Linked DNA regions of Homo sapiens: regions 2, 3, 4 and 5 are each linked to region 1. The links are contacts of gene promoters, found by promoter capture Hi-C in blood cells and fetal thymus (Javierre and others, 2016). All regions are on one chromosome and are shown on one strand. The core of a region is centred on a gene start or on the middle of the fragment in contact, and the rest is flanking DNA. Distances in the headings are between cores, read along the strand shown.

The links. The method cuts DNA at HindIII sites, captures the fragments that hold promoters and counts their contacts. A CHiCAGO score of 5 or more calls a contact.
Region 2: a contact is called between a fragment that was not itself captured here and the fragment with the promoter of FIGNL1 in region 1, in 9 of 17 cell types (activated CD4 T cells, non-activated CD4 T cells, fetal thymus and 6 more). The highest score is 15.3, in activated CD4 T cells.
Region 3: a fragment that was not itself captured here is called in contact with the fragment with the promoter of FIGNL1 in region 1 in 11 of 17 cell types (activated CD4 T cells, total CD4 T cells, naive CD4 T cells and 8 more); the score reaches 14.8 in activated CD4 T cells.
Region 4: a contact is called between a fragment that was not itself captured here and the fragment with the promoter of FIGNL1 in region 1, in 8 of 17 cell types (total B cells, non-activated CD4 T cells, naive CD8 T cells and 5 more). The highest score is 10.0, in total B cells.
Region 5: a fragment that was not itself captured here is called in contact with the fragment with the promoter of FIGNL1 in region 1 in 12 of 17 cell types (naive CD8 T cells, total B cells, activated CD4 T cells and 9 more); the score reaches 15.7 in naive CD8 T cells.

The regions. Positions count from the first base shown.
Region 1 is chr7:50,448,615-50,453,934 of GRCh38, reverse strand. It overlaps FIGNL1 (fidgetin like 1), which reads left to right and starts at 3,585. Exons shown (of 4, transcript NM_001287492.4): 1 at 3,585-3,634; 2 at 4,212-4,817. RefSeq lists silencers at 3,439-3,628, 3,770-4,064. The HindIII fragment of the contact is 8,767 bases long and covers 1-5,320 here.
Region 2 is chr7:50,109,371-50,114,690 of GRCh38, reverse strand. The region is part of intron 2 of SPMIP7 (sperm microtubule inner protein 7); the gene reads right to left. Among named protein-coding and RNA genes, the nearest start is that of SPMIP7, 16 kb to the right of the region's middle. The HindIII fragment of the contact is 2,899 bases long and covers 1,684-4,582 here.
Region 3 is chr7:50,126,632-50,131,951 of GRCh38, reverse strand. It overlaps SPMIP7 (sperm microtubule inner protein 7), which reads right to left. Exons shown (of 9, transcript NM_001161834.3): 3 at 2,159-2,235. Among named protein-coding and RNA genes, the nearest start is that of SPMIP7, 33 kb to the right of the region's middle. The HindIII fragment of the contact is 6,824 bases long and covers 1-5,320 here.
Region 4 is chr7:50,158,850-50,164,169 of GRCh38, reverse strand. SPMIP7 (sperm microtubule inner protein 7) reads right to left here. Exons shown (of 9, transcript NM_001161834.3): 9 at 4,914-5,124. The coding sequence ends at 5,001. Among named protein-coding and RNA genes, the nearest start is that of SPMIP7, 66 kb to the right of the region's middle. The HindIII fragment of the contact is 7,687 bases long and covers 1-5,320 here.
Region 5 is chr7:50,175,736-50,181,055 of GRCh38, reverse strand. No RefSeq gene overlaps it. Among named protein-coding and RNA genes, the nearest start is that of SPMIP7, 83 kb to the right of the region's middle. The HindIII fragment of the contact is 3,503 bases long and covers 925-4,427 here.

The DNA of each region.
Region 1 (5,320 bases), core at 2,336-4,835:
AGTATGGCCAATGAAAATCTTTTACTAAAATTGTGCACTTGCTTCACCCTGGGCTCACACATCTTACTCCTCTGCTGGAGGGCTAGAACACCATCCCCTCAATCCTGGTACTTTTTTCTTCCTTACCACTGAGTCAGGGAGCTGAGAGGTTTGGAAGTCAGTGGGAATCCACACAGAGAAAGAACTGGATTTAGATTGGGCTGTTTTCCCTCTGAGCTTTGTCCTGTTGGCTTCCCTATCTCCTCAACACCACCTGCCTCCCGCACCCACCGACACACACATCTCCAGAATGTAACTCTCCTGGCTGACAGGGAAGCACATTATTTAGGGCCGTATTATCCCCTCTGCTCAAAAACAAATGAGCTCACCGAAGTGTACACTTGCATTTATCTGAGACCATGTTTATAAAATTCATGAATATGGAAATGGGCAGCCATCTCCCAGAATCCCTCACACCAAGAGAACTGGCACTGTCTGCTGTAGGTGAAAACCTCTTCCCTTGAAGGCTCAACAACTTCTACCCAGAAGAAGAAAAGAACAGCATATTCTTTCTCATACACACACACAAACACACACACACACACACACGCACACAGTATATACCACCAGTCTGTGGTCTTGGAAGCAAAGTTTAATAATTGAATAGCTCAAGCACTAAACTCTTACATATTATTAAGATACTATCCTAATATGTCTCATTTGTCAAAGATGGAAAAGTTTTGATATGACATAAGGGTTTCAATCCCAATAGGAATATTAATGGTAACAATAAAAATAACATAGCAACACGGTTTCTGTTGAATGCCTGCCACATGCCAGCAACTGCTTTGATAATTAAAGAATTATATCTTATGTTGATTATAATCCTTATAATGGCTTCCTGGGTAAGAAAGGTTTATTACTGTTTTACATTTGAGGAGGAGACTAGGGTTCAGAGAGGGTGCAGAAGTGAGTTACACTTTTGCCAACCAGGCCAGAAGATGAAAGCCGCTGGATTGGGAAATGCTTTTGTATCAAAAGCACAAAATGAAGTGGCTAGTGTTACTTGTTGGAAAAAAATTAACTTTGGCAAGCATAAATATAATTCAGTATTTGAGCAATACTTTTAGGAGGGTAACAGAGTGGTTTATGTGAATTCTCCAAAATGCCATCATGAAAATTTTGATGATGAAAATCACCTAAAATTGCTAATTACCTGTCTTAGCCTGTCTAGGGCTACAAAGTACCATATGCTGAGTGGCTCATAAACAATAGAAATTTATTTCTCACAGTGGAGGCTGGAAGTCAGAGTGCCAGAATGGTCGAGTTCTGGTGAGGGCTCTTCCAGGTTGCTGTCAACTCTTTGCATCCTTAGGTGGTGGCAAGAGGGCTAGAAAGTTCTTTGGAGTCTCTTTTATTGTATTTTATTTTTTGGAGACAGTCTCACTCCGTCCCCCAGGCTGGAGTGCAGTGGCGCGATCTCAGTTCACTGCAACCTCCACCTCCTGGGTTCAAGCAATTCTCAGGCCTCAGCCTCCTAAGTAGCTGGGATTACAGGTGCCCACCACAACACCTGGCTAATTTTTGTATTTTTAGTAGAGACAGGGTTTTGCCATGTTGGCCAGGCTGGTCTCGAACTCCTGACCCCAGGCGATCCACCTGCCTCGGCCTCCCAAAGTGCTGGGATTACAGGCATGAGACACTGCACCCAGCCTCTGGAGTCTCTTTTATAAGGATACTTACTATTCTCATCCATGAAGTCTCCACTCTCATGACCTAATCACCTCACAAAGGCCCCGCCCCTTAAAACCATCACATTGGGCTTAGGATTTCAACATACAAATTTTGGGGGGACATAAACTTTCCATCCCTAACATTACCCAAATAGTATCTATATAGTCATTTCTAAATATACACGTATTTAGAAATTTCTAAATAGCCAGTAAACATACAACTGACTTGGCCTTGATATAACTGTTTTCATTTTCTTTTATTTTCATTCTACATGACATATTTTGGGTAATTATAAAATAATTAAAATTAGTTGATAAAGTATGGAATTAGAATAAAATAATTTTCTATTACTATCTAAGCCATGAAATGAATTAGGAGATGCTGTTTTCAGTGAAACGTCTTCTAGTTTTTAAAGTGCATTGTCCAATTCCTTTTTATTTTGTGAAGATTTTAAAAACTTAAAAAAAGTCTTCAAATTGTTTGTGCCTTGCATTTCTTTAAATCTTATGTTTAAACATCATGTGCTGCTAGTTGCTAGTCATTTTCTCTATCCCCTGCCCCAGACCCTCTCTTTCTCAGGAAAGGATATCCAGGGATCCGGGTCCCAGTTAGTCAAGGAGATATAAGAGGAAGGCTATGAGGCTTTCTGGGAAACATTTTCTTTTTCCAAGAGAGAAGTGTTCAGAGGGAAAAGGTCCTTTCTCAGTTTGGCTCCCTCTTTGTGTTTTAGATCTGGTCATGTGAGGCTGCCTGGCTTGGATTGTGAGGGCATCTCTCGACAATGAAGTGACAAGCCTGGGGAGGAAAATCCACAGGCGAGAAGGTGGCAGAATGGAGAGATGGTCCTTCATGACTTCTTTGAGTCACCAGGTCCAGATTTCCCGCCAACCTCCAGTCTTCTTGTTATGTGATCTGATATCATTATTTACTGCAGAGGCCACTGAGTGGATGCTCTTACTTGTGTCTGAAAATCCAATTCACTAAATTAATCAAAATACGGCACTCTTCTTTTGAAACCTTGCTCCAGAACAAAGTGGAAGGTAATGATGGGGTGCTTTTCAAAGTTCCAGGGAGGTGTCCCTACACAGCAGACAGCTGTCCAAAGGAATGTAGATGTTGGCTGCGGGGAGATCTGAGTTGCCAGACTCAGTCAGAACAGGTGTCCTCTCCCTTATTTTATCTTAAACATGCATGTCATTTTTGCATGCTACTCTATGCGGTTCTTTCAGCCAGGGAACATTGCTGAGCACCCGCTCACGTGCTGTATGGAGCGCAGACTGCAGGGTGCGAGGGGCGGAGGTGATGTGCTAGGCCTGAATTCAAGAGGGGGCGCAGCCACAGGCCCCGCGATGCCGGGGTGGCCTCTTGTAACGACGTTTTAACCGCTGACCTAAGTGGATCCGCTCCTCTCCCGCCGCCCGCTCCCTGCCTGCAGCACAGGATGGCGGCTGGCTTTCCCGAGTGGGCGCAGGTGAGCCACGCTTGCTCTCCCGGGTGGGCGCAGGTGAGCCATTGTTTGCTCTCCCGGGTGGGCGCAGGAGAGCCACGCTTTGCTCTCCCAGGTGAGCCGCCGCTCGCTGTCCCGGTGAGGGGAAGTGAGCCACGCTCTATGGGAATCCTTCGAATCTTCATTCAATTTCCATCGCCTCCTTGTATTTATTTGGGAGTACTTTTAAAAATGAAGCCTATGCACAATGATGTAATAAGCGTTTATAGAACACCACTGGTCGGAGCTAGGGCCTAGGTGGCGGTGCCCGGGCCCAGGTGCCGCGCCCACGCCCCGCGCGCCGAACGCACGCACGCACGCACTCACGCACTCACGCACGCACGTACGGCGCGAGTCCGAGGGCGACAGCAGCGCGCAGGCGCACGTCAGTCCCCGCGCTTTTCGGAGGCTGCCAGCGTCCCACACCAGCCGCAGGTAGGATGCGGTGACGGGAGGCGGGGCAGGGGCGCTGCTGACCCCTGTGGAGCATCAGGGTTGGGGCGTAGGGGAGAGGCGGGCGTGTGCCTCTGGAATGCTGGGGGTCGCGGGGCGGTGACTTCGCGGGAGGCCGTGGGAGGCGGGAGCCAGGCAGTGGCTGTGCCCTTTTGCTTCTGTCTTAGCGGGAGGGTGGCTGACCCGCTAGCCCAGAACCAGACTCATCCAGGATTAGGAAGCTGGGGCCCGGCGTGGACGGCAGGCTCGGGGCCAGGTCTGCGGGCGGCTTCCTTTGGCAGAGCCTGTCCGGGGGCGGGGCCGCTTACCGCAGGCATTTACTGGGCCCAGCGGGGCTCTGGGCGCCCACAGCGGGGGTCAGTCAGTTCCCCTGTGACCCAGGCAAGCTCTTAATCTCTGTGATGAGAAAGAAGGGCTCATACCTTTCAGGGGTCATCGTGAGGAATCAGAAGAAGCAGTATTTTATAGAGTATTTTCTAAGTGCTGAGTCCTCTGTCTAGTGCTTTGCAGAATTAAAATACCTTGTCAGCTCAGTGATGTTGCTGCGCTTCTTTTATAGGTGAAAACCGGCAGAAAGACATTAAGAGATTTTCCTGCAGTCACTGCTGGCAGATGATAGAGCCAGGATTTGAAAGCAGGCAGCCTGGCTCCAGACCCTGTGCTCTTAACTCCCGTTTTGCATCAAGAACAGAATCCTATGAAAGGCTTGCACAGTGCTTGGTACTGAGTAGGCACTCCGTCAGTATTTTAGTAGCTATTATTCCAAAGGACACTGTATTCTAGGTACTAAGACAATGTGAATGGAATGGAAAACAATTCCTCCCTGCAGAAGCCAACTGTCTAGGAAGACAGATAATGACATTATTAAAATAATCAGAACATTGGCAAAATAAAGAAGATTGAAATGCAGTTCATATGACAGTGCTAATTAATCATACTTTTTAGATCTAGGAAAGGCCATAAAGGTTAAATTGACTTGGAAATGGTAAACAAGACAATGGTTGTGTCACTGATCGGTGATGGCCAGTTTTTGGTTATCCTTATTTGCCATTTAAATGATTGAATTGAAAGGAAGAAGTAAGACTTGGAAGATGAATATTGAAGGAAAGGTGAAGATGGAAAAGAGAAGGGGGTTTATTCTGAGAACAGTGACTAGAACTCTGAGGTATGGTAGAAATTTCAGGATAACAGATGATAAAGGGGAATGAAGCCATGGAGAGGAAGAGAATGATAATATTAATTGTGAAAGTTTGTGTCAAGTGTTTTCTGAGTCACCTTTCTTTCAGTTTCTCATTTCTAGTATTGTATAAATGAGTTTAACATCAAAATGGTATAGTGAAAAAAAGGATGAACTGCTTGACAGAAGAGGTCAGATCTAGTTTTGACTCTAGCTTATTTAGCTTTACAGCTTTAAATAAATTACAGTGTCTTTAAAGCTCTGGATCTTAAGTTTTCTAATTGTTTTTTAAACAAAGATTTGTGAACACCTACTTACAATGTGACAAATGTCTTTGTAAGGCATTATGGGAGATAAAAGCTGCATTAAACCTGGCTGTTGTACTTACAAGTAATTTGGAAGGCAAAATTTCAAATACTTGAACCTAAAGTAGGGTTTCTTGGTTTTCATTTAATTGAAATACTGTTAGGAAACAAAAATTTTTCATAAAT
Region 2 (5,320 bases), core at 1,884-4,383, 340 kb after region 1:
TTCTATTTAACAGTGGACATAATTTAGTTTAAATCTGTTTTTGTTTTCTATTTGTTTTATCTTCTCTATTTTTCTTTTGTGTTACTTTCTTTTGAGTTAGTTAAGAATTTTTTTAATTTTAAAATTTCATTTTATCTCCTATTAACTTACTACATATGCTTTAAAAATTTTTTTCTTTTCTGTTGTTGCTGTCTCTCTAGGATTTATAGTATACATATTTTACAATATACATCTTTAACTCCAGGGTTTACAGGATAATAATATATCATTTCAAAAATAGTGTAAAAAAATTTAAACAGCATATGCTCATTTTCTTTGCTGTCCCTTATACTACTGTCACACAATTTACTTTTTTATATGCTATAAACCTGAAACACATTACTATTATTGTTGCTTTAAACAGTGATACTGTAAAGAACTCCAAGATGAAAAATAGTATTTTATATTTACCCATATGTTTACCATTTCTGTTCACCTCAATTTATTTCATTGTGTGAACTTGAATTTTCATATACATTATTTTCTTCTGTCTAAAGAAATTCCTTCAGGTCTACTGGCAGTGCATTCTTTCAGCTTTGTTTTTACAAAAAATGTTTCTATTTTGCCTCTAATTTTAAATATTTTTATTGTTAGTTAATATCTTCTTAGTTTATTGTTATTTGTTTTTGTTACTTAAAATATGTGCATTTATTTTCTTCTGGCTTGCAGAAACTGACAAAAAGCCAGAAGTCATTCTTACATGTGTTTCTTTGTAAATATCTTTTCTCTAGCTGTTTTTAAGATTTTATCTTTATCACTGTTTTTCAGCAATGTCATTGATGTGTTTTGGGCATAATTTTAAAAAAAATTTATACAGATTGAAATTTGTTGAACATCTTGTGTCTTCAGATTTATAATTTTGATCAGTTAGGAACAATTTGTGTCATTGTGTCACCAATCTTTTTTCTCAGCTCACTTTTATTCTGAGACCCCAATGCATGTATGTTAGACTTCTTACTAGATACCGTTCCGCAGTAACTGATGCTTTATTTTGAAGCTTTATTTTCTCTCTTTTCGTTTTGAATAGTTTATGTTGCTATGTCTTTATTTTCACTGATCTTTCATCATGCAAGATCTGCTCTGTTCTTAAAACTACCAACTTATCTTTTACTTCAGATGTATTTTTCATGTCTAGAAGTCCGTTTGTATCTTCATATCATCCCTTGTTCTCATCATGGTTGTGGCTGTCTCTATGATCTGAACATATGAAACAGATTTGTAATAGCTGTTTGAATACAATAGCTGCTTGGTCTTCTATGTCTGTCACTCATAGATCTGTTATTATTGACAGATTTTTCCCCTGGGTGATATTTTTCTGCTTCTTTGCATGAAAAGTAGTTTCATTTTATTTTTTAAACTGAGAACTTATTTTGGACTTTAAGTTGTTGGTTGGTTGCTGGAAGTTGTTTTATTCTTAAGTTTTGGATTTTTTTTCCAGCAAATAAAGTAATTGGAATCAGTCGGATGCTTTTAAAATTTGAGAAAGTCCAGAGGAATCTTTAAAGTTGGACTAGTTAAGCCTGACTACAAAGGTAATATCCCTTTGAAGATCTGACCTGATGTACCTATGTACTATAAAGTTTTTTATTCTAGTTTGTGGGGACATAAAACGTTCCCTGTCCTGTTTGAGTTTCAGGGAAAGCTTATGCCCACTTCTTTACAGTGGGTTTTTCCTTAGCTTTAGTAGTTCCTTTTATGTTTACATAGATCAGTACCCAAAGACCTGAGCGATCTCTTTTGCATATCTCCAAAGCCCCACTGCTCCTCCACATCCGGATAACTCCCTCTTCTCTGCTATCTTACCCTGCAAATTCTACATTCCTTGGCTTCCCAGAACTCTAATCTCTCTCCTCAATCCAACAAGAATGTAAAGCTATGTTTGGGTTTCACTTTCCTGGGCTGTGGCTTAAAAACTGCCCCCAGGAAGCAAGCTGGTGTAATTGCAGGGCTCACATCGTTAGTTTCCCTTCTTTAGAGATCCCAGTCCTTCAGTGCCTTTGGCCAGTGTCTGGAAATGATTATTTTTTATAATTTGTCCAGTTTTCTATTTGGCTAAAGCAGAAAAGTAGCTTGAGTGCCCGTTACTTCATCTTCTCTAATTTATTCATTACTTTGCTTATCATTTTTTTATTTTTCTTTTCGTGCTTTCTTTTGATTTACTTTGCTGTTCATTTTGTAGCTTTTCACCTGGGAAGGGTGCTACTGGCATCTAGTGGGTGAGGTCAGGGGTGTTGCTAATCATCCTACATTGCACAGGATAGTCTCCTTCAGCAAAGATTTATGAAGCCCAAAATTCTGACCATGCCAAGGTCCAGAAACCATGGTTTAACACATTCTGTTCCACTGCTTGGTTTTTGCTCTTCAGGACCTCCAATTATATGTATATTGTTTCTTCTTTGTTTATCTTCCACTTCAACCATCTTCTCTTTAACACTTTTAAATATTCTTTATCTCATGTTCATTCTCTTGAATATTTTTTCATTTTTTATTCAACGTCCTTTGTTAAATTTTGGTTTTCTCTGTTTTTCCTTTGCACCATTTAATTATTATTCCAAGATAATTTTGTATTATTTTTTGTCACTGATTTGTATTTAATTTTTGGATTTCTGTATGAAGGCAGACCTTTATAATCTCAAAGGCTTATTTGAAAATATGTAATTCAATTTGTAGTGGTGTAGTACAATGTTTCATTTACTGCTAAATAGTTGACGTGGGAGTAATTGTCTTCACTAGATTGTTTTGATTCTTGTATTTTGTTTTATTACGGTTGGTTGAATTTTGAATAGATTTATTTTATTTTCTTCTATTCATTTTGTGGATTTTGTGTGGTTTGCAATATTTTTAATTTAATGGTGGTCTCTCTGTCAGTGTAGCAAAATACACTGTCATGTTGATACAGGAGCTAGAAACAAATTATTTAAGTAGATAGTAAGTGCAACAGAATCCTTGACAGGGTTTCCCTTTTAACAAAAAGCAGCACCCAAATCATTTCTTTTCTAACAAAGATCAGCCTGAAAAATCTAGCTGTAAACATAGATAAGTATGCTCGAAGTTTGCATGTGTGAATGCTGACAGCTGTGCCAATAGGGAAGGGCTACCAGGAAGCCAGGTATATTCAACATGGAGGCTCCATCTTCCCTTTTCTTTGTCACCACGTGTACAGTAAAAAGTAAGCAACATGGTGCCAGCCAGGTAGAGAACCCATCTACATAATAAGATTAGGGTGGCATTGGCCAGATTCTCATGTGCTATGCAAATGGAACATCTGGTTCAGTCAATCTTGTGTGCCCTATGTAAATTAGACACCACCTCCTCAGTCTCATCTACAAAACCTGCATTTCACTGCAGAAGCAGGAACCCATTTTCTCCAGGAAGCCTCTCTGTGCAGAGAGCTCTTTTCTTTCTTTTGCCTGTTAAACAACCACTCTTATCCACAGTCTGATGTGTCTTAGTTTTCCATGGCCAAGGGACAACAAATCTCGGGTATTACCCCAGACAATGACACCATTTCAATACATATATAACATAATATAATATATATATATAACATATACACATATAATATAATAGAACATTTTATCATATATATGATAATATAACATCATATATAATAAATATATAATATACATTTTATATATAATAAAGATATTACATATATATTTATTATATATATTAGCTGATGGTTTACATATTATAAATATATATTTATATTTTACATATTATATATTAGCTTATGCTTTTTATATATAATCATATATTATGTAATAATATATAGTAATATAGTATAATATCTAATTATATATTATAATATATAATATATAATATGATTATATATTATATTATATATGTTAGATATCATATTAGTTATAATTATACATTATAATCTATATCATATAACATAACATATTTATATATAATATTTAATATAATATATGCAATATATTATATAATAATATGTATATATAATGTATTATATGATATATGTGATGTACACACATTATATAATATATTTATATAATATGTAGTATATATTATACATAAATATTAGTATATACTATGTCAAATGTAAATGTAGTAAATATTATATATAAATATAAGCATATAATATATATCAAATATATAAATATAATGTATCAAATATATAAATATAATGTATAGCACATAATATAATATATAAAAATATATATCACATATACAATATATAATATATAAACTATATACAACATATTAAATATGAATATATTATATGTTAAATATGTAATAAATAAATATATATAAGAACTCCTGTTGTAATCTATCATTGCTATGTAGAAAAGATCTGTCAAGCCTTTGAAGGTAATCTGTGTTTTTTTCCCCCACCTCTGGCCGCTTTTAAGATATTATCATTGATTTTGGTTTTATGCAGTTTTTCTCTGGTTGATTAGGTCTTTACTTTTTAAATTCTTCTGTATTTTGTTGCTTTCAAATAATATTAAATGAAGAAATTTTACATTTAAAAAATTTATTAACTATTTTCATTTTACCACATAATTAAATACAAGCTTTATTTATTCAGATATGGAATTACAAAATATTCAAATTGACTACAGCAGAATTGATCCTCAATTCCCAGAATTTTATGAATGATTGTGTACCAAAAAATCCAGTAAAACTTACTTTATTTATTTATCAGTTCTTTTACTCCTAAGCTTCTTATAAAAGTATTGTTTTATGAAAGTAATAGTGTTCTAAATTTGAGAATATAAATGAACATTATTCAAATTAATGTCAATGTTGTATCAACAATATCAGTGCTGTATCTATCAGTAATATTGCATCAGAAAAATTACAGCTTATTTTACCAGCTTATTATTTTGGGTTATTCTACATATGCAGAAATTATTAGATTGCAATTTGAGGTAGATATAATAAAAATATATAATCTCTTTGATTTTGACCCTAGTAACCAAAACAATTACCTTATTTTAAAATAGTGTTGGCCTGGCATGGTGGCTCACACCTGTAAACCCAGCACTTTGGGAGGCCGAGGCGGGTGGATCACTTGAGGTCAGGAGTTCGAGAACAACCAGGCCAACATGGTGAAACCTGTCTCTGCTAAAAATACAAAACATAGCCAGGCGTGGTGGCACATGCCTGTAATCCCAGCTACTCGGGAGGATGAAGCATGAGAATTGCTTGAACCCAGGAGGTAGAGGTTGCAGTGAGCTAAGATCATGCCGCTGCACTCCGCTGGGGTGACAGAGCAAGACTCTGTCTTAAATAAATAAATAAATAAATAAAT
Region 3 (5,320 bases), core at 1,513-4,012, 320 kb after region 1:
ATGTGAAGAAAAAAGAGTGGGCAGATATGGAGTGCTTTGAGGTCCACACGTGTTGTCATTTCTTTATTCTCTTTGTTGCCTCTCTTTCCCTCTTCATCCATTTCTCTGTGTCATGCCATGTGTTTTGGCATTCACTCTATCACTCTGCTGAATTCTAAATCCACTAGTCAGCCCCATTATCCATTCTTGGGCCTCATCCCACTTGACCTATTTGCATGATGTGAATAGGCAATCACTACTCTTCCCTGAACACATCCTCAATCTGCCTTCCAGGACCTAGACTCTTCATCTTCCTCCTACCTTACTGGTTGCTCCGTTTCAGTCTCGATTGCTGGCTTCTCCTCTTTTTTTCTCTTTTTTAACGAGATGCCAGGACTCAGTGCCCTTTGCCTGTATGACTATACTTCACCTTTAGTGTTCTCATTCAGTTCCATGGCTTTACATACCTTTCTACAAGCCATGACACCCCGGTTGATTTCTCTGGCCCAGGCCTCTGCCTCAAACTTCAAATCCATATTTCACACTGCCTGCTTGACATATCCACTTGGATGTCTAATGAACATCTTTATATTCAATGTATGTAAAACTGACTTCTCCACTGCCTTCACCTTGTTATGAAATGGCAACCTCAGTACATCCAGCTGCATAGGCCAAAGCCTTAGAATCATTTTTGAGTCGTCTTTTCTCCAGATTCATCACAATCAGAAAATTGTGTTGGCTCTACATTCGACATACATCCAGAACTCAACCGTTGCTTACAAATTTTTCTGCCAGCACTCTCCCCCAAGCTACCATTATCTCTGTCCTAAATGACAACAATAACCTCCTAACTGGTGTTCCATCTTCTCTCCCCTGTAAAAATCTACTTTGATCACAGCAGCCACCATGATTATTACCTTCTTGTATAAGTCTGATCTTTCCACTTCTCTGCTAAAGCCTCATGTCACTCAGAATGACAGTCCTGGTAAAATTACAATTGCTTAAAGTGTCCCACAAGATCTGGTTCCTAGCACTTCTCTGACCTCTCCTTTTGCTACTCCCTCCTCTTACCCTACTGTTACCCTACTCCAGGCACCCTGGCCTTTTGTTCTTCCTTAACATCTTAAGCATACTTCTGACCTGGGCTTTTGCTCTATATTCCCTCTTCAGGGTATAGAGTCACTCCAAATCTCTGCATGGCTGCTCTCTCAACTCCTCCAAATTTCTGCACACCCCTCAGCACCTGGGGAGGCCTCCCCACACCTCCTACTTATTACTGAAGCCTGCTACCCTGTACATGTGGGACTCCTGATCTTGTCCTGTTCTACCTTTTCTTAATAGACTTATCTGTCACTTTTTAAGATATGATCTATTTACTTTCTAAGTGTGTTTGTTTATTATTGTCTGTTTCCCTTTTGATATGGTTTGGCTGTGTCCCCACCCAAATCTGACCTTGAATTGTAATAATCCTTACCTGTGTAGGGTGGGGCCAGGTGGAGATAATTGAATCATGGGGGCAGTTTCCCCCATACCGTTCTCGTGGTAGTGAATAAGTCTCACGAGATCTGATGGTTTTATAAATGGGAGCTGCCCTGCACAGGCTCTCTTGATTGCCACCATATAAGACGTAACTTTGCTCCTCCTTGCCTTCTGCCATGATTGTGAGGCCTCCCCAGCCATGTGGAACTGTGTCAATTAAACCTCTTTCCTTTATAAATTGCCTAGTCTCTGGTATGTCTTTATTAGCAGAGTGAAAAGAGATCAATACACCTTTATAATGAGAGATTTGAGAGCAGAGATCTTTGCCTACTCACTGATGTAGCTCATAGTCTAAAACATAGATTCGTAATAGGTACCCAATATATTTGTTGACTGAGTCAATGAATTCTCCCATTTAAACTTTCTCTGTCTTGGCTTTCTAGGATGCTGTACTCTTATCCCCCCACTCCCTCTTTGACCATTTACTTTCTGTTATGGTTTTATTCTTCCATCAAGCATAGGTGTGCCTTAAGACTCTTCCTTCAATGTTTATTTTAGCAATCAATATCAGTAAATGTCTGCGTTTGATGTCCTCTGTGTCACTCATAAGATCCAGGATATTATAGACATAAAGAGGATGTGTCATAAAGGAAAAAGAAATATATTCCAAAATCAAAATTCCACTGGGAAAACTGCTTACTTTTGTGTAGAGGACTTGTAAAATGAGTCCTTTGCATTACATTTCTTGTTTGTTTGAACAAGTGGTTCACCTTCATCCTAGAAGGCATGAAAAATAAGTTAAAAGAGACCAAATATAAATGGAAATTGTTATTGTTTTCTAGTCATCATGTTTTCTTTTGGATTCCTTTTTCTTCATATTTCTTCTTTCACGCACCTCTTGGATTGACCAGATTTAATGCTTCCCTACTTTTCCTCTCCTGTTTAAGGAATTTGCATTGTTTTATTGTCATAATCATTAAATTCACAAAATGTATATTAAAGTTAATGGAAAGTGAGAACTTAAGAGAAAGCTCTTGAATTGGAAACATCAGCAAATACTTAGTTTTAGCACAATGTAATTAAAAAAATTTTAGAACGTATTGTCTTTTCTTCTAATAACATAAAGAGATTAGTTATGAGATACTTTATCTTCCAGTTATTTTATCAAAATTAATTAACTAATTATTGTTATAATCATTATTATCTTTAATGGTTACTATTTATTTCAATTTTCAATGATATTTTACCAATTTGTTGCCTCCTTTTGCTTTTTTATTGTACTTGTTTTTTCTCCCCTAGGTACTTGGTTCCATTTTCTTTCTGCTGAAGTTCAATTTTTGTTAATTCTTTCACAAATGTAAACTTTTTCTAGTTCTATGTTTTAATTCACCCTCAGTTTTGAAAAGTGTTCTAACTTGGGTTCAGAGTTCTAGTTCAATTCTAGTGATGATTTTTTTAGTAACAAATTTACCTCATTGACTTCGAGGATGTATTGTTGCTTTTAAAATACACTGAGTTTAATTGTTTGCAGGTATTCTGTTTTCCTCCCCTCTGCTTATATTTAGGACATTATCATTGTCTTGAGATTTTTTACAGATTCAATGTAATTTGTTTAGGAGAGGCTATATTTTTGTTTATCTGGCTCAGGACTTGTTATACTTCTTCGATTTAACAATTCATAACTTTCATCAAATAGTTCTCTATCTTTATCTATTTACTGTCCATGAATTATAATTATTCTCTTCTTTTAGAATTACTATCAGACAAATACTGGACTTTTCATTCTGTGGTTCATGTCTCTTAATTTTTGCATTGCTTTATCTCTAACTTCCGCATGTACCTTCTATTCTACCACTATCGGCTTTCATAGTTTTAAAATGTATTTGTATTGATACATAATAGATATACAAATTTTGGGGGTAAATGTGATAATTTGATACATTCATATAATCTGTAAAAATCAAATCAGAGTAATTGGAATATCCATCACCTTAAATATCTATCTTTTCTTTGTGCTAGAAACATATGAATTTTTCTCCTCTATTTATTTTGAAATGTGCAACAGATTATTGTTAACTATAGTCACCCCACTGATATATCAAACATGGTCTTAATTATTGAATCTAACTGTATATTTGTACCCATTAATCAGCCTCTCCTTATCCTCCCTCCACACTCCCTTTCTTGGCCTCTGGTAACCACCAATCTACTCTCTATCTTCATGAGATCCACCATTTTAGCTTTCGTATATCAGTGTGAACAAGCAATATTTGTCTTATGTAGTTGGCTTATTTTATTTAACATAATGACCTCCAGTTCCATCCACGTTGGTACAAATGACAGAATTTTATTCTCTTTTATGGCTTAATAATATTCCATTGTGTATATATACCACATTTTCTCTACCCATTCATCCACTGATGGACACTTATGTTGATTCCACATTTTGCCTAATGCGAATAGGGCTGCAATAAACATGGGAATGCAGATATCTTTTCGATATATTGTTTTCCTTTCTTTTGGATATATACTCAGTAGTGGAATCACTGAATCATATAGTATTTCTAGTTTTAGGTTTTTGAGGAACCTCCATACTGTTTTCCATAGTGACTGTACTAATTTACATTTCTACCAACAGTGAATGAAAGTTTTCCTTCCTCCATATCCTCACCAGCATTTGTTATTCCCTGACTTTTTGATAAAAGACATTTTAACTGGTGTGAGATGATATCTCACTGTGGTTTTGATGTGCATTTCTCTGATTGGTGATATTGAGCATTTTTTCATATACCTGTTGACTATTTTTATGTCTTATTCTGAAAAATGTCTACTCATATCTTTTGCCCATTTTTAATCAGTATATATATATATATATAGAAAAAGATATGAATAGACGTTTTTCAGAATAACACATAAAAATAAGACATACATATATATACATAGCTATAGAGTTGTTTGAGGTCTTTATATACATTCTGGTTATTAATCCTTTGTCAGATGGGTAGTTTGCAAATATTTTCCCCATTCTGTGAGTAGTCTCTTCACTTTTTTTTTCTGTACAGAGCTTTTTAGCTTGATGTAGTCCCATTTTTTCTATTTTTACTTTTGTTGACTGTGCTTTTGAGGTCTTACACAAAATATATTTGACCAGACCAATGTCCTAGATCATTTCCTCATGACTTTTTTCTAATAGTTTCAGAGCTTCAGATCTTAGACTTAAATCTTTAACCCATTTTGACTTGATTTTTGTGTATGGTGAGAGGTAGGGGTCTAGTTTCATTCTTGTGCTGGTGGCTATACAGTTTCCCCAGCACCATTTATGGAAAAGACTGTCCTTTTCCCATTGTGTATTCCTGGAGCCTTTGTTGAAGATGAGTTGGTTGTAATTGTGTGGATTTATATGTGGGCTCCCTAATCTGTTCCATTGGTCTCTGTGTCTGTTTTTATGCTAGTACCATGCTGGTTTGATTACTATAGTTTTGTGGAATATTTTGAAGTCAGGAAGTGTGATGTCTCTAGCTTTCTTGTTTTGCACAGCATTGCTTTGGCTATTCCAGGTCTTTTGCATTTTCATATAAATTTAGTATTTTTTCTATTCCTATGAAGAATTAACTTTTCTGCTTGTGATTTCCTTTTTCACCTTTTTCTACTCTGTGTTCAATATACGTGTTCATTATATATTTTTAAAAATTCTTCAAAGCTATATCTAGCAAAATGATTAATTTTCTCTTTTACTCCATTAGTATGTTAAATTACATTGATTAATTTTAATGGTAAGTGAATATTTGCATTCCTGAGATAAACTTTACTTGATTAGGATATATCTTTTCTATAAATTATTGTTTTTTATTTGCTTTGTAAA
Region 4 (5,320 bases), core at 1,186-3,685, 290 kb after region 1:
CTGTGTCCACTTTAAGTCCTTTCAGTATTAGGAGATACCTTAGATCCTTGAGGAAATAGAGAAGATACAAATTTTATTAAAATGTAGCTAATGCAGGAGGAAGCAGGCACACAGCCCTCAGAGTCATCAGTGGTTGTCAAACTTGAACCTGGGTCAGGATGACTCCATTAGTGGCTTATTCAAATGTCAGTTTCAAATGTGGAACCCTGGCTCAAGTGTTTAAGCTATCAGTTAATATGTTTATTCACTTCAGCTTTGAGCTCCCCGGCAGGCAGGGGGAAGTGGAAGCACTTTACCTTATGTAATTTCACTCCTGTATATGTTATAAACCAGCAGATTTTATAAGAGATTGAGGTGGGTGACTTATATGATTCTCATACTCTAAAACCAGGTTTTTTTCAGGAGGGACAATCATTTTTCTGGTTCTAAATTATTAAAAGGAATGTTTTGGATAGTTTCTTATGTAAGGACCTTTGAAGAGAAAGGGCATTGACTTTTTTATAACTTCTTAAGTTTTCCAGTTTTTAAGAACACATGCCTACTGTAGTAACAGTATAAAAGGGTAATCACCTGTAATCTCAGAACTAGTAACTATTTACCTTTTCTCTACAGTCTTCTATGTATACATATATTTAAAATTTAAATAATTAAATACACGCTGTTGTAATACCTGCTTTTGCATTTAACAATATTGCATATATATCTTTTCATGATAATCAATACGAAGCTCTATTATCTTTTTAATGCATATATTTCAGTACATTAATGTACAACAATTTATCACATTTTCTCTCTCTTTTTTTTTTCTTGAAATGGAGTTTCACTCTCGTTGCCCAGGCTGGAGTACAGTGGCCCAATCTTGGCTCACTGCAACCTCCGCCTCCTGGATTCATGTGATTCTCCTGCCTCAGCCTCCTGAGTAGCTGGGATTACAGGTGCCCACCACCATTCCTGGCTAACTTTTGTATTTTTGGCAGAGATGGAGTTTCACCATGTTGGCCAGGCTGGCCTCAAACTCCTGACCTCAGGTGATCTGCCCACCTTGGCCTCCCAAAGTGCTGGGATTACAGGTGTGAGCCACCGCGCCCGGCCTATCACATTTTCTTTCGATGGGCATGTTGTATCGAACTTTGCATCTCAATAGGGAAGACACTAGGTTCAAGAGGCCGAAGAAGAGATCCAGAGACAGCAAATGAAGCATGGGATTTTATTAGGAGCATACTATACAGGGGAGAGAGTCCAATGCAGGCAGGCTGGATAATAGGACTGCCTTAATTACAGAAATGGTGGTGGTAGCCTGGACAACATAACCACATAACCCAGTGGCAGCAGGCTGGCCAGGAAAACTGCAACTGCTTGCAAACAGCATGCAGTTTATATAGCATTTTCACTTAACATCCTCCTCCTAGTGAACTCCACCTTCCAACCTTCATGAACCCAAAACTCAGGGCCTCAATCTCTTGTTCGGCCATGTTCCACAGGATGGGACAGGGGCTCAGATGTTTATCATAGATAAGAAACCAATCTCTGTGTTAGCCACTCCCAGATGCCCTAGCTCAGAACACACATCAGGTGCATCTGCCATAAGGGTCATTCTAAGAGTATGCTTAAGTTATTGCTATCAGTTGTGTTTACCCTACAGGACAGTAAGTTGTTTTCATTTTCTCTCAGTTAAATAAAATGCTGCACCTTTAATTCTTTATGCATATATATTTGCTTACTGTGTGATTATTTGCTTTGACAAAATCCTAAAAACGAAATGACCAAGTTGAAATGTAAGCCACTTGCGAAAGCTCTTAAAACATTTTGCCAAATATCCCCTAGGAAGGTATTACCCATGTAAACTACCGGTGGTATACAGACATCTATTTCTGCTCATAAGCACCAGTTTGTGGGTGAAAAGTGAAATACTACTGTCATTTCTCTAATACTACTGAGGTATAAAAATTGTATTGGCCATTCATATTTCTTATTTTTTATTAACATCCTTTGACTTGTTTTTATTAGTATAATCATTTTTAAATCATAGGCTGTTTTTACAATGAGAATATGAATCCTTTGACATATTTTCCTGGCAGTTTTATCTTAAAATTTTGGTTGTATTTTTTATACTGAAAGTAGCTTTTTATCTCCTTCAGTGTCCTTTTCGGAAATTTTTTTCACACCCTCCACCTTATAAACCAATTCTCTTGAATTTCCGAGTAATCTGTAACTTATCTATTTAAGTCTGTATTCCAGGAACAATTCATTTAGTGGATCTACATTTCTTTTTTGTTTCAAATAGTTGTCCCAATACCATCTATTGAAAAAAACCTATCCTGCACTCAGGAGTTCAAAATACTTTCCTCTGTTCAATTCTAGTTTCCATTCTGCTCTGTGTTGAGTGCCATATTTTTTCATAGTATTGTACTTTTGTAATATTTTAATATGCTGCATTCTAACATCCTTATTTGCTAGAATAAGATTATTCACATGGATTTTCTTCTTTCATTTTCTTTCTTTCTTTCTATTTATTTATTTATTTTTTTTTTGAGGCAGGGTCTCACTCTGTCACCCAGGCAAGAGTGCAATGGTGCAATCATGGCTCATTGCAGCCTCAACCTCCAGAGCTCAAGTGATCCTCCTTCATTTTTTGATTTTTTTTTTTTTTGTAGAGAAGAGGTCTCACTGTGTTGCCCAGTCTGATCTTGAACTCTGGGCTGAAGCAATCCTCCCGCTTTGGCCTCCCCAAATGCTGGGATTACAGGTGTGAGGCACTGCCTGGTTTAGCATGTATTTTTTCTCTCAGGTGAACTGTATAATTTATAACATCTTTCACCTAAATGCTATAAAAATGCCACAGTTCTCTGTATTTGTGTCATCTCTGGGGATAAAGAAAAGCTGAGAGGGTGACTTTATAGAGGAGACGGTGCCCGGAGGGTAGGGAGTGAGGGGCAAGTTGTTAGTCCGAGGAAGCACAGCTCTGCTGGCTCCTGGTGAAAGAAATCATGCAAGACCAGAATTCAGAATCTGAAGAGCAGATGTGTATCCCTGAGACTATTTTCCATGGCTTTTGTGACTTTTAGTTGTAATGTTGACCACAGAAGCCCAAATACTACAACTTACACCCACCCCACAGGTCAGGGTCAGGAACACTGGTAATTCTATGTTCTTCCTTGTTGTGACTGACCTTGGGATTCTAGGTCTGTGGTGAACAGGATTTGCATTTTTATCTTCACAAGTGATAAGTCTGAACAAGCAAATGAAGAGTCACCATCTCTCTTTTTCTGAATGAGGCCCAGGGATGCCGCAGACAAAGCCAACATCCTTCTAGAAGCAGCATTGGGGTGTTCAAGTGCTCTTACAGGTGTCTAGGTATCTGCACTGTAGAGAATGGAAAAATTATCTTAGCCTGGAAAATGCTAAGATCCAGTATTACTGAAGCCCTATCCAGGCCCAGAATGATGAAGAGGTGCCTCAGATTTTGAGCACCACCACCCCCTGGCAAAGTGGCCTGCCAGGGATGTTTACTGCAAAATGTAATCTCAGGTACCTACGTTAACCTGCTTCCTGAAGGAGGCTAATACTGCCCCATTTGTGTTTTGCTGAGAACATTCCAGAGTTGAAGATTTTTATTTGGGTCTATTTTTTTTCCAATTTACTCTTTCTAAAAATAATGAAACTACAAGATTGGGTTCAGGGGGAACCATTCCTTTTGCACGCAGGCACGTCCGCCCTCAGGATGGATGGCTGTTGCCCTTCCTCTTTCATCCTGGTAAAACACTCACCATCGAAGCATGTGTTGTTGTCCATTGAGGCAATACATGATTCCATCACAAAGATAGCTGACTTCCCCCTTTCTGTGGGAAAATCAAGAACAAACTACCCCCAAAAGAATTTACACATTTACTTGGAGTTCTGAGGTATAACTATCTTGATCTTAATTTCTTAGAAGTCAGATAAAAACCCTGAGACACTTCAGAAAAGTCTAGAAACACAGGGAGGGTTTTTTTTTTCAGTTTCTATTTGTTTTGTTTTTATAATTCATTGAAGGTTATCCAATTTGCTGAAAAAATGGAAGGGTAGGAGAGGTATAATATCTAAATTTAGAAAACCTGGATTCTAGTTATAACTCTACTAATTATTAGTTGCGTGACCTTAAATACTTCACTTCTCCTGGCCTTAGTCTATTTAATTCATAAATTGCAAGATATTTGTAAAATGCCTGCTATAAGAATTTATTACAAGGTTGCAGGATCAAATGAGCTAAGGTTTACAAAAGCACTTTGTAAACTCCAATAGGCTCTGTGTATGTGTATATGTGCATGCAAATACTATATAAATGTACTTTATGTGTATATTCCGAAGGCCAGAGGGCTCCCCCTCAGCCCACATGCACCCCTGAGAGATTCTGCGAGCTGGTGCTCTCTTTGGTCAAGGCCGGGTCAGGCCACACTCTAACCCAAAGTGGTCCTGACTTAGACTTCAGGACCCTCATGGGGACTGGGGAACACTTCTCTCTGAAGGAAACACTGGAGCAGGCCAAGAGAGGGTAGATGTTGTCCCCTTGTGTGATGTCCCCTGCTAGAAAAGAAGAACGCACTTTCTCAGTAGCTCAGGGTTCCCACTGACAGCATACGGATTTTTGACTAGACTGCCTTTGAGATTCTAAAATCTATGGTCTGCTCTCTGCTCTAGAATCCCTGCACTGAAGTGGTGCCATGTGAAACCTCTAGGTAGACCCAATATTCCAACCCTAAAGAGGAATCTTCTGCAACACAGGCCCTGCTACCCTGCTGCCGGCGGCTTGGGAGTCTGCGCCGCGGCTGGCGGGCGCCCAGTGTCCAGCTGAGCGCCGCCTGCCGGGGGAGAGAGGCGGGCTGGGCAGGGACGCGCAGGCCAGCGGAGAACAGCACCGAACCCACCACACTGCGCAGCGCGGAGAAGCAGCCTTTATTTCCCACCGCCGCACAAGCCTTCCCCAGGCGGAGGCCTGGACAGCCCGCGCAGGGCCGCCTCCTCTAGTAGTCTATGGTTTCTTTGTCCTTCTTGTTGAAAGGGTTGTAGGGTCTCACAGTTGTGACCAGTCGAGACAGGGGAGCCTGGTGACGGAAGAGGTCAACTGCCATTTCTTTCTGGAAGACGCTGGGGCAGGATGGGAAAAAAAGGAGGAAAATGAGACATAAAAGACATGTACAAATACACAACCTCATCCAACTAATGATACCCCTGTGCGGGAAGGGGAGGGGAGCGCGCACTGCAGGCAGGGAGCGAGGATGACTCGTGCTGGGGAGCACTCAGCTGCAGGGATTGCACCTCTGTGCTGCGCAGAGAATTATGG
Region 5 (5,320 bases), core at 1,427-3,926, 270 kb after region 1:
CTAAGAAATGGAGCCAATTTTACATCCTGTCTTAGTTTCTCAACTTTCTGGTGGTCCTGAGCATGCAATTGGAATGCACTTGGCATTTGTCTTTTTCTCCCCCCTCCAGGTTTAAAAGAAGAAAAAGACAGGAAATACTGGAAGTGGCTTATTTCTTCATGCACACCCATGTCTTTTTGCAAAGTGCAACAGAATGACCACCACCCCTCCACTCCAAAATGCGTTCCTGCTTATTCTAACCCTTTATACCAATAACATTGTCCAAAGCCAGACAAATTGAAATAAAACAAAGCAAAATAAAACAAAAAACAAAACAAAACAAAAACAGGCTGGACCAATGAATGTAATACTTATATTAAAGTATGCATTAGAACATCATGCAGAAAAGAATCTATATCTTTCAAAGAGAGCATTTTCTTAGTACTTCTCCATAGGTTTCAAAGAGCAATTTTTGGAAGACTGGAGAGAAAAAAAAAGAGTGCAGGTTTTCTTTTCATTTCATGGATCCTTAACCCATATTTAATGCAGGCTCTGGATTTTAGACACAGCAAGTGTGCTTGTAATTATTTCAAACAGTTAAAAAAGCTAGTTAATGATGTTCAACATAAGTAATCATGTTAAATAGTAAAATTTAATTTCTTAAAAACTTAAATCCTCATATCTTCTGGAATGCATTGTACTGTAGGATGTCTGAGTAAATTAAATTCTCTCCTGCACACTAAAGCATCAATTTCCTTATGGTAATTATCTGCTAGATTGGATCTGTCAGAGGCAGGGAAGCAAGCCTGACATTATACCCTCTTTACAAAAAATGATTACAAAAAATTAAGACGAATGAGTAAAATTAAGGCTGTGGCTGGTAAGCCTCTATAAAGCTCTCATGGATCACTCTACAGAAGATACCATTGTACTGGGGACTAAGCTTTTAATGACTAGCCGTATAATCAGGTGAAGTCCATTAAAGAAGGGCAGAAGTAACCGATCACAGAGATAACAGTGAGAAATGATTTTCCGCCAAGTAGAAGCAATTTATTAAACACAAAAACGCATTTTTAACGGAAGTGTCTGGATGGATAAGGAACTTGGTAAAGGTGACAGGATTTATTTCCTGGAACGTTTGAAAAAATGGTAATGCACAGGGGTCTATGTGTGCTTTTTCTTTGCCTTTGGGGTCTTGGAGGGTTCCAGGTGGAATTCCCCAGGGTTCTGGCAAAGCCAGTTGCACAGCCAAGTGCCTTTGGGGTCACGCTGCCACCCGCCTCTGAGTTCTCTGGTCTAGATTCCTCAGAAGCTAATTCGACCAGAGATATCTTTCAATTCTGTGCTGGACTCTCACCGACTGCACCATGGATAACCAAACTGTTCATCTGCTGTTGTTAAACCCAGCCGTGTGTGAAAGCACTTAGGGAATATAATTGCATGGCTATCAGGGCCAGCGCATCGGTTTAATTAACTCTAAGGCAAAGAAAAAACAAAACCCCCATGGAATCATGAGGAAAGCTGCCTGAGCTCAGGGCATAAATTAATAAAGAAAAATGCCCGAGTTGGCATTCAAGGCCCAGGAGCAGCTACCATCTGGCCATGTCCCGAGTCCCTTCCCTGCTGTCCCAGAAGTGCTTTCTGCTAGTCCTGGTCATGCCTTTTTTTGGGGGGCTATTCCTTTCCAAGGACTCTCTCCTCCTTGCAAGTGACTGAGATGGCTGGTCAATCCCTGCTCTGCAGTGGTCTTCCCCTCTAGGTCTCAGTTTTCCTGATCTGGAAAATGGGATCGTTAATGACAGCATGACCTGTCAGGTTTACTGGAGCATAAGAGAGCTCCGGGCTTGTTGAGGTGCCGGCACATACATACTAACTGGACTGCAGGATGGCAGCCTTCACCCGGCTTCACCATCAGCTGTGTGTTTCCATCTTGCCCATTCTCTGTGAGCCCTATGAGTGCCAGGAATGTGTTTTGTTTCCCATTGTATTCTCAGCACCCAGTACAAATGCCAGCAGATAGTAGATGCTTTAAAATGATTATTGAATAAAAACTATGAAGGCACAATTGGAATTTTTCTAGTCATGAGTGAAAACTAGGGGCAATGAATTTTTATTTGTAAGCCTTGGTTTACCTCCATTTGAATGCTATAGATAATCTGGTGTATGGCTTTCTTGCATCTCTGGTACTAATGAAAGCAAACTAGCTTTAGGTGAACTGTGCACACTCAGACTACTAGCTTGCTGACATAAAAGCCTTCAGCTTAACTCATGCCTCAGCGTGAAGTATATGTGAGGTAGTTTTCCAATGACAATTTTGCCTTGGGCATGCATGGCATTTCCTAAGGCAATCCCAGGAGCAAAGGCAGGCTTCTTTGGGAGAAGTAGCAGCACCATTGAAAGTAGCAGCACCAGGCAGAGGCCAGCTCAGATGGTTATTAGAGACAACCTATCATCTCAGTCCTCATGATGGTGTTCAGAGCTCTTCATGGGCTTGTCGCAGGTTCAGCATGAGTTCCTTCTCTCCCTGCCTGCTCTCTCAGCAGAGCACCGGGCCCAACTGGGTCTGTGTCATTGCTCACATTGGGCATGTGGTTGGCACGCTTGCTCCCTTTCTTTATCAGAAAGACCCTGAGCATTCTTAACGCAAAGTACTCCGAGATGGCTTTTCTAATGTGCTCGGGGAAAATAAACTGCTTTCATTAAATTTTGTTTATATTTCCATAAAAGCACTGTCAGCTAATTGGATATGTGTTTGTTGCTCCAGGGAGTTAGTTATTTGAAAGCGCAGGACATATTTTTCATTCTCATCAATGGTCTGGAAACCTTTCCTGATATAACTGGTAGCCAATAGAAAATAATCTTACTCCTAAGTGACGATGAATATAAAATGTGTCCAAACGATGGTGCAAATAAGTAATTACCTATTTGATTGAGCAAGCCGCCTTTCCCTCTAAACCCTGGAACTCTGATGGTCTGCTGATTCCTTTCTGGTCTCTTCCCTTATTCCTCCCTGTTGTCAATATTGGTCATTTCTCATAACATAAGTTTTGTTTACAACTATGGTAAAATACTCATGACATAAAATCTATCATCCTAATCACTTTTAAGGGTATATTTAAATAGTGTTAAATACCTGTTGTGCAACCATCACCACCATCCATCCCCAGAACTTTTTCATTCTCCTAAAGTGAAACTCATTAAACACTAATTCCGCATTCCTCTCTCCAACCACCAGCCCTAGGAAACCACCGTTCTTTTTTCTGTCTATGAATATGACTTCTCTAGATACCTCATATAAGGGGAATCATCCTCTATTTGTCCTTTTGTGACTGCCTTATTTCATTTAGCACCATGCCTACAAGTTTCATCCATGTTGTAGCATGTGTCAGAATTTCCTTCATTTTAAGGCTGAATGATATTCCATTGTATGTATAGACCACATGTTGTTCATGCATGCATCCATCCATCCATCTGTCCATCCATCCATCCATTCATCAGTAGACACTTGGCTTGCTTCTGCCTTTTGGCTATTGCGAATAACACTGCTATGAATGTGGGTGTACAAGTATTTCTTTAAGACCCTGCTTTCAATTCTTTTGGATATATACCCAGAAGTGGAATTATTGGATTATATATTTAGTTTTTTGAGGAACCAGCATATTGTTTTCCATAATCACTGAACCATCTTACATTCCCACCATCAGTGCACAAGGGTTCCAGTTTCTCCATATCCTCACCAGTATTTGTTATTTTTATTTATTTTTTGAGACAGTTTCACTCTTGTTGCCCAGGCTGGAGTGCAGTGGCATGATCTTGGCCCACTGCAACCTCTGCTTCCCAGGTTCAAGCGATTCTCCTGCCTCAGTCTCCTGAATAGCTGGGATTGCAGGCACGCACCACCATGCCCAGCTAATTTTTGTATTTTTAGTAAAGATGAGGTTTTGCCATGTTGGCCAGGCTGGTCTCGAACTCCTGACCTCAGGTGATCTGCCCGCCTTGGACTCCCAAAGTGCTGGGATTACAGGCGTGAGCCATGGTGCCTGGCTGTTGTTTTTAATAGTAGCCATCCTAATAGGTGTGTAGTGACATCACATTTTAGTTTTCATTTGTATTTTCCTAATGATTAGTTGATCAGTTTTCATATGCTTGTTGATCATTTGTGTATCTTTTTTAGAAAAATATTTATTCAAGCCCAGTTTTTAATTGAGTTATTTGTTATTGCTGAGTTAAAAGGTAATTTATATATTTTGGATAATAGTCTCTTATCAGATATATAATTTGCAAGTATTTTCTCCATTCTGATAGTTGCCTTTTCACTCTGTTGATAGTATTCCCTGATGCATGGAAGTTTTTAATATTGATGTTATCCAACTTAATTATTTTATTTTTTTACCTATTTTTTGGTGTCATATCCAAGAAGTCATTGAAAAATCCAACATTATGAAGCTTTTCTCCTGTGTTTTCTTGTAAGAGTTTTCTGGGCTGGATGTGGTGGCTCATGCCTGCAATCCCAGCACTTTGGGAGGCCAAGGCGGGCAGATCACTTAAGGTCAGGAGTTCTAGACCAGCCTGGCCAACATGGTGAAATGCCATCTCTACTAAAAACACAAAAATTAGCCAGGTGTGGTGGCGCACGCCTGTAATCCCAGCTACTCAGGAGGCTGAGGCAGGAGAATCATTTGAACCTGGGAGTTGGAGGTTGCAGTGAACCGAGATCGCGCCACTGCACTCCAGACTGAGTGACAGAGTGAGATTCTGTCTCAGACGAAAAAAAAAAAAAGAGTTTTCTGGTTTTAGGTCTTCCATTTAGGTTTTTGATCCATGTTGAAGTAATTTTAGCATATGATAAAAGTTAAAGGCCCTAATACTCTTATATAATAGTACAAGTTTTATGCTAACAAATTTTGGTCTTTTTAAAAAAATTTATGAAACTTACTTTCCCTTGAAAGAGCAAGGAAGAGTAAAGATGACACTATGAGGGACAAAAGAAATCTTATCATACCATATTTGTATCAAATGACACCCAACTCAACAAATATTTGTAAACTTTGAGTACAAATTTCTATAGAAGCGAAGAGAAATGCATGCCTTGGGTTTGCACCAGAGTGTGCTATGCTTGAATGTTTGCATTTAGGGCAGAATCTTACTCCTTAATTGACAGTACTGCAAAGTCAGGAGAGAGGAGCTAGTGACAATGGTGGGAGAAAGCTTTTTGAAACATTGTCGTTGCAATGGGAAATCTGGGGAAACCACTGTTTTTCTGTGTTAAACACTCCCATCACCATTGTGGGATCGGGACATGAGGGAGATACTGTCTCCCAGGAGGTGTGAAATGAGTGAC